2 separate regions of the Homo sapiens genome follow, and region 1 is linked to region 2. The links are contacts of gene promoters, found by promoter capture Hi-C in blood cells and fetal thymus (Javierre and others, 2016). All regions are on one chromosome and are shown on one strand. The core of a region is centred on a gene start or on the middle of the fragment in contact, and the rest is flanking DNA. Distances in the headings are between cores, read along the strand shown. Region 1 overlaps KIR3DL2 (killer cell immunoglobulin like receptor, three Ig domains and long cytoplasmic tail 2). Region 2 holds the start of KIR3DL3 (killer cell immunoglobulin like receptor, three Ig domains and long cytoplasmic tail 3).

Region 1 (3,513 bases), core at 872-3,371, 140 kb before region 2:
GGAGAATGGCGTGAACCCAGGAGGCGGAGCTTGCGGTGAGCCGAGATCGCGCCACTGCACTCCAGCCTGGGTGACAGAGCAAGACTCCAGCTCAAAAAAAAAAAAAAAAAAAAAAAAAATCTACTCTCCCATGCTTGCCTCGGCAGCACATATACTAAAATTGGAACGATACAGAGAAAACTAGCATGGCCCCTGCGCAAGAATGACACGCAAATTCGTGAAGTGTTCCATATTTAAAAAAAAAAATCTACTTTCCTGGTAAATTTCAAGTATAGAGTACAGTATTGTCAACCATAGTGGCAAAGCTGTACAAGAGATCTTCAGACCCATTCCTCCTGAATACCTGATAGTTTGTATCCTTTGATCAACATCTCCCAATTCCCTCCCCCACACTGTCCCTGTAGTTCTAGTGAGTTTCCCAGACTCTGATGTCTCAATTTCATTCAGTCACTTTCCTCCAGATACATCTACCCATTCCTACTGCATCTTAGTATCCTGAGCCTTGGGGGCAGTTTCTGTGCCAAGTGGAAATGTGGAAATGAGATATTACGAAGAAAAATCTTTGCCCACCTAGACAGGGATCTGATGTTTTCCAAGATGACACATGATTACATGTTGAAATGATAATATTTTGAGTCTACTTGTATAATAAAATAATATTTTGGATCTATTAGGTTAATATTTTGGGTCTGTTGGGTTAATAATATTTTGGGTCCATTGGGTTAACTTAAATTAATTTTATCTGTTTCTTGTTAGCTTTTTAATTTGGATACTAGCAAGTTTGAAAGAATGCATGTGGTTTGCATTATGTTTCTATAGGACAGAACTTACCTGTAGATGTAAGGGAGTCACAACAAAATTACAAGCATTGTTTTTGGTGGAAATGAGAAAAATGATTACAAATTTACATGGAAAAGCAAATAGCCAATAATAATAATAATGGCAATCTTAAAGAGGAAGGAGAAATTAGAGGATTCAGGCTGCCAAATTTTAAGGGGTTCTATAAGGCCACATAAAGTGCAGCATCCTCATGAGAGTGGACACAGAGAGCCACTGAGCAGAAAAGAGTGTGTAAAATACATCTGTGTACACACAGTCCTTTTATAGTTGACAGAGGCTGCCATGCGGATTAAGGTGGAATAGAATGTCTTCTCAGTAAATAACATTGGACCAGAGGGTTACAAGCAGGAAAAAATAAATCTAAGCTTATTTTCACACCATAAAAACACTGCTAATTTTTTATCTTATTATCATACATTTTGATGATTTATTTATAAAATTGATGAATGAAAATTATATACAGTTGTCCTTCACTATTCATGGGTGATTGGTTCCAGGAAACCCCCCTCCCTACCAGACACCAAAATCTGCAGATGCTCAAGCCTGTTGCATGAAATGGCACAGCGTTTGCATATAACCCATGCACATCCTCCTGTATACATGAAATCATCTCTAGATTACTTATAATTCCTGATACAGCCTACACACCACCTCACTTGTGTCCACACAATATAGTATTTTTGCTTTTTGGAACTTTGTGGATTTTTTCTCTGAATATTTTTGATTTATATTTGGTTCAATAAACACCTGTAAACCCCACAGATATGGAGGAGCGACTGTATATTTATAGTATGAAAGATGATGTGTTGACATGTGTCCCTGTGGAGATGAGACTAACAAGGCCTATGACTCTACAAATGTTTCATCTTGGAATGACTCTGCCAGCTTTCCAGGTCTGCAGAGAGTAAGAATATCACTTGTTCATGTGATTCACGATCCTTGGAACCTCCTATGTGCTGCATCTTTGGATGGAAATTGGAGTCCCAGAGACAAATGAGGCTCCACCCTGCTTCCAGAAGCTCAGAGTCCAGGGCTGAGAACCCAGTAGAGAACATATCAGGTTATATGGACATAGTAATGATAACACTGGAAACTTTTGGCGAATAAAGAGTCACATTATCGAAACCATGAGGGCAGACATGTTTATTTGAAGAGGAGAGAGCTACACTGAAGTTATAAAAAAAATTTATAAATTTTACTGATGACAGAAGGCTGAAAGATAGTCTGAGGGGAGGTGGAACAGCATGAGGGAAGGTGGAACAGCAAGTGTGTAAGTGCCGTGTTAAGAGGGAGCCTCTTGTATGTTTGGAATTGTGAGTTCCTCAGTGTGATTGCAGCCTCAAGTAGGACTAGGAAGTAAGCCAGTTAGGTTGGAGAGGTGGGCAGGGGTCAAGTGAAATAGATACTTGTGGGCTAAGCAAAGGAGTGTGTTTTCTCTGCAGCAGGCAGTGGCGACCTTAGGCATTTGTAAGCAAGAGAGAGGCATGTTCAGATTCGTGGTGTGAGGAAGAGCGATCCCCTAAGATGCAGACTGATGCCTTCAGATTCCAGCTGCTGGTTCATTGGATCTGGCAACCTGGTTTTGAGACAGGGCTGTTGTCTCCCTAGAAAACCCCCTCAAGACCTGACTGTGGTGCTCGTGGGCAGGAGACAACTTTGGATCTGGGCTCAGCATTTGGAAGTTCCGTGTACACGCTGGTATCTGTTAGGGGTGTCTTGGGCCTCTGAGAAGGGCGACTGATTTTTCTCTGTATGAAAACGCAGTGATCCAACTGTGCGTACGTCACCTCCTGAGGGTCTTGTTCATCAGAGTCCTGGAGAGAGGGAAATGCTGAGTGAGGGAGGGTGCTCACATTTTTCAGGACTATTAGGGATAAGACTGTATCCGTGAGGCTGGGCCGAGGAGGACCTACCTGCCTATTCACTGTTCTGTCCCCCGCAGGCTCTTGGTCCATTACAGCAGCATCTGTAGGAGACGGAAGTCATCAAAACCGCTTGGAGGGCCCTTCTGGGTCCTCATTTCATGGGCAGACACCAACCCACAGGGGGAGGCTGTAGGTGCCTGAGGCTCTTCAGCTGCCAACATCCAGACTCAGACATTCTATCTCTCTGAGTTCAAGACCCCATCCCATGAAGTGCTCTCAATTGGCATCCCATTGATTCTGTCTCCCACTTTCTGCCTGTCATGGAAGCTTCTGGATGTCAGTAGCTGCAGGGGATGTGAGGATACAGTTCAGAACCAGGCAATGGTCTGTGAGCTGAAGGCAGGGGCAGGTTGTCTGGTGCTCTCTCTAGAAAGCCCTGCCTCTGTGGCTCCTCCCTTGGGCCAGGGACCATCCTGCCAGTGAGGAACACACACCCGCGTGCTCCCATCCTGCTTCCCCACATGGCCCTGAGCTCTCTGGCCTCTGCTTCGTGAGACTTACTCTTTTTGTTGGAGCACCAGCGATAAAGGAGAAAGAAGAGGAGGAGGATGAAGAGGAAGATGACCACTGAGGTCCCAATCAGAACATGCAGGTGTCTGCAGATACCTGGAGGAAGATGGGAATCCAATAAGAAGCTAATCATAGCAGTTCCTCTTTATGGATTGTCTCATTTCTTGATTGACAGGTAACCACATGGAACATCTCCTTAGGACAAGCAGCCTGATGGCGGGAGACCCAGCTTTCTCCT
Region 2 (3,840 bases), core at 153-2,652:
CTCTTACTAGATTTTAACACTGCAAAATTACTTACATAAAAGAACACAAGGTAGACACAGGATGGAGGGCATGATCAGCTAATGCATGAACCATAATAAACAACTGAGCCCCTATTAGAAGATCTGGAATGTCAGGGTCATGACTGTGGTTCCCCCACCTCTTAGGTAGAATGACAGCAGCCACATTGCAGCCCCTACCGTCATGGAAACGCTGGAGGGTGTGAGTTATGCTCTTGTCCTCAGAGGCCTGTTGTTCCTTGCACTGCTTCTCTCCCTTCCTCTGCCGGTGACACCACTTCCTCCCTGCACACCACTCCTTTGAGCACTTCAGTCTCCCCCTGGGTCCCCACAGACTCAGCCAAGGGAAAGAAAGGCCGGGGAGGGCTAGGACAGAACTGTGGCGAAGCTTCCCCTGGCTTCCTTTTCCTAGTTCATGAGAGATTCCCACATGGCTTCCCATGGTCAGCCCATCAGTCAACCCCCTGTGTCGCCTGCCTCCCGTTTCAGGAGCATCATCTTATGTGGGGAGATGACAACCTAAGGTTTGGGGGAAGGACTCACCCACATGTGGCCAGGGCCCCTCCAGCAAGAAGAACCCTGGAAAGAAAGATCATGATGGATGATCCATCTGTACATCACCTCCAGGCCCATATCTCCACTCCAGGCCCATATCTCCACCTCTAGGCCCATATCTCCACTCCAGGCCTATATCTCCACCTCCGTCCTATATCTCTACTCCAGGCCCATATCTCCACTCCAGGCCTATATCTCCACCTCCGTCCTATATCTCTACTCCAGGCCCATATCTACACTCCAGGCCCATATCTCCACCTCCAGGCCTGTATCTCCACCTCCAGGCCCGTGTCTCCATTCCAGGCCCATATCTGCACTCCAAGCCAACATCTCCACTCCAGGCCCGTATCTCTACTCCAGGCCCATATCTACAGTTCCAGGCCCATATCTCCACCTCCAGGCCCATATCTCCACTCTAGGCCCATATCTCCACCTCCAGGCCCGTATCTCAATTCCAGGTCCATATCTGCACTCCAAGCCAATATCTCCACTCCAGGCCCATATCTACAGTTCCAGGCCCATATCTCTACTCCAGGCCCATATCTCTACTTCAGGCCCATATCTACAGTTCCAGGCCCATATCTCCACTCCAGGCCCATATCTCCACCCCAGGCCCATATCTCCACTCCAGGCCTATATCTCCACTCCAGGCCCATATCTCCACTCCAGGCCCAGATCTCCACTCCAGGCCCAGATCTCCACCCCAGCGCTCCCTCCCTCGATTCCCTTCCAGGACTCACCAACACACGCCATGCTGACGACCATGAGCGACATGGTGCTGCCGGTGCAGACAGGCGGCTGCGCCCCAGCTCAGTTCAGCAGCACACAGGATGTTGTGAGGGGCTCATGCAGTTTACATGCTGACCACATCATGGGAGGATGACGTATGCAGGCTATTTCTACCTTGCATGAGGCCCAGTGGCTGTTTGGTCAAGAGCGGAACATGGCTTCCTGGAAATTGTTCCAACTAGAATTGACACCTTGCATCCTTCACTATAACCAACTCAAAACACGTCTCAGATCCAATCTCTCATACAGGAGATGACTGAATGCTTGGCTTACATTAAAGACTTTTGATGTATTTTTGTTGTTTTTATCTGAGATTCAAACTCTTCTTCATGTGCTATTTTCCCCAGGCTGTTCTTTGACTTCAGAGTTCAAGCAATCCTCCTGCCCCAGCATTTCTAGCAGCTGGCAGTATGTCACAATCTGCCACACCCAAGTCACAACTTTTAGAACTTTTTTTTTTTTTGAGACGCAATCTCACTTCGTCACCCAGTTTGGAATGCAGTGGTGAGACCTCGGCTCATTGCAGCCTCCACCTCCCAGGTTCACGCAATTCTCGTGCCTCAGCCTCCTAAGTAGCTGGATTTACAGGCACCCACCATCACGCCCACCTAATTTTTGTACTTTTAGTAGAGAGGAGGTTTCTCCATGTTGGCCAGGCTGGTCTTGAACTCCTAACCTCAAGTGATCTGTCTACTTCAGCCTCCCAAAGTGCTGAGATTACAGGTGTGAGCCACCATGCCTGGCCGGGACATTCTATATGTGTGCGTATGTGTGCGTTTATATACATATGGTTATACACACACACACACACACACACCCTAAGCACTCACATATATAGTTGTTTCAAATTTTAAAAAATATAAATTTTGTATTTTTCTTTCTTTTTCTCACATTTGTGTTTCTATGACACCATATACATATTGAATTTTATAGTTCTATTTTATTCTTTTGGATTGCAGTTTAATAGTCCATACATAACTTTATCAACATGTAATTATCCACTCTTTTTATCATGGACATTTGTGTTGTTTCCGGATTTTCTCTTTTATAACTCGGGCCTTGATAATCGTGTTTCTGTGTGATCCCTTGCATACATATGCTGAATTAATTAGACATATTTACCTAGGAATGAAATTATTGGTTTTGGGTGCAAGTTGGTGTTGAGCTTAACCAGGAAGTGCCAAAATATTTCCATCATGACCAAATGTGGCCTGGAAAGTTTTTTGGGGTCAATTTTCCTGTTTCTTCTAAGGAACAAAATTGATGTCACTGATTTTTCTGTCCTGTTTGTCATTTATGAATATACGTACATATGCACGTATATATTTGCTTGCCATTTTATGTTTTTCCTCGACGTTACTTTGGAATTAATTTGCTGATGTGTAGTATTTCTGCAAGCGAAAGTTACCTATTTACTCAGCTCTTCCTTCTTTTCTAACACAGACATTTGAGGCTTATTTTCCTTTAACACTGTTCTATCTGTATCCCCAGTCATTTGCCGAGATGTGTTTTCATTTTTAATTGATACAAAATATTTTCCACCTTTCTTTGAAATGTTTTTCTTCCACTCATTGTTTATTGCTATGTGTGTTTATTAATTTTAAAATATTTGATAATTTCCCCAGCATTTCCTTGTTGTACATTTATAATTTAATTCAACTGTTTCATCTATCATATTACCTATGATTCAGCATTTAAAAATTTATTTTGGTGAATGTTCCAGGGGTGCTAGACAAGTTTGTGGATTAGGAAGATTTGAGGTGGATGTTTTCTAAATGTCAGTTAAGAAAAAAATCATTCAAATGTTTTTCTTTATTTAAAAAAAATAGAGACGGGGTCTCACTATGGTGCCCAGGCTGGTCTCAAACTCCTGGCCTCAAGTGATCCTCCCATTTTGGCCTCCCAAAGTGCTAGGATTATTGAAATTATTAAATGTTTCATATCAACACCCAACCTTATGCACCCGCCGCCTACACAAATGTTTTTCAAGTCTTTCATATGCTTAATAATTTTCTGTGTACTTGTTCTGGAAGTGAGGTGAATGTTGCTATCTCTAGCTGCAATTTGGATGTGATTGATTATGTTTTGAATTATGCCTTTAATTTAATGTGTTTTGAGGTTCCAGCTTTAGGTGTGTAGGCATTTAGGATTATTATGTCTTATTTATGAATTTGCCTCTTTGTCATTATGAAGTACTCCTCTTCATATCTCCATATATCTCTTCTTTGTATGTGCATGGTGAAATATTTCATTCTTTGAGTTAAGAAACTTCTATTGAGGAATACTTTTTATTACAAACATTTACCTATTCTATGTATACAACTGACTAGAAGCATATTTTGCACTGGGCATTATCATGACAATGTAATGTCATTCTTTCAATATTTACATCTTGTGGATTAGTATTTGAAGTGCAGCTTATGTAGACAGCATAAGGTTGGGTGTTGATATGAAACATTTAATAATTGCACACGTATT

The links. The method cuts DNA at HindIII sites, captures the fragments that hold promoters and counts their contacts. A CHiCAGO score of 5 or more calls a contact.
Region 1: a contact is called between a fragment that was not itself captured here and the fragment with the promoter of KIR3DL3 in region 2, in 1 of 17 cell types (monocytes). The highest score is 5.0, in monocytes.

What each region holds. Positions count from the first base shown.
Region 1 is chr19:54,865,663-54,869,175 of GRCh38, reverse strand. KIR3DL2 (killer cell immunoglobulin like receptor, three Ig domains and long cytoplasmic tail 2) reads right to left here. Exons shown (of 9, transcript NM_006737.4): 7 at 3,267-3,371; 8 at 2,754-2,806; 9 at 1,969-2,654. The coding sequence ends at 2,445. It also overlaps the pseudogene RNU6-222P. Among named protein-coding and RNA genes, the nearest start is that of FCAR, 6.8 kb to the left of the region's middle. The HindIII fragment of the contact is 1,827 bases long and covers 1,208-3,034 here.
Region 2 is chr19:54,722,004-54,725,843 of GRCh38, reverse strand. It overlaps KIR3DL3 (killer cell immunoglobulin like receptor, three Ig domains and long cytoplasmic tail 3), which reads right to left and starts at 1,402. Exons shown (of 8, transcript NM_153443.5): 1 at 1,314-1,402; 2 at 562-597. The coding sequence starts at 1,347. The HindIII fragment of the contact is 6,556 bases long and covers 409-3,840 here.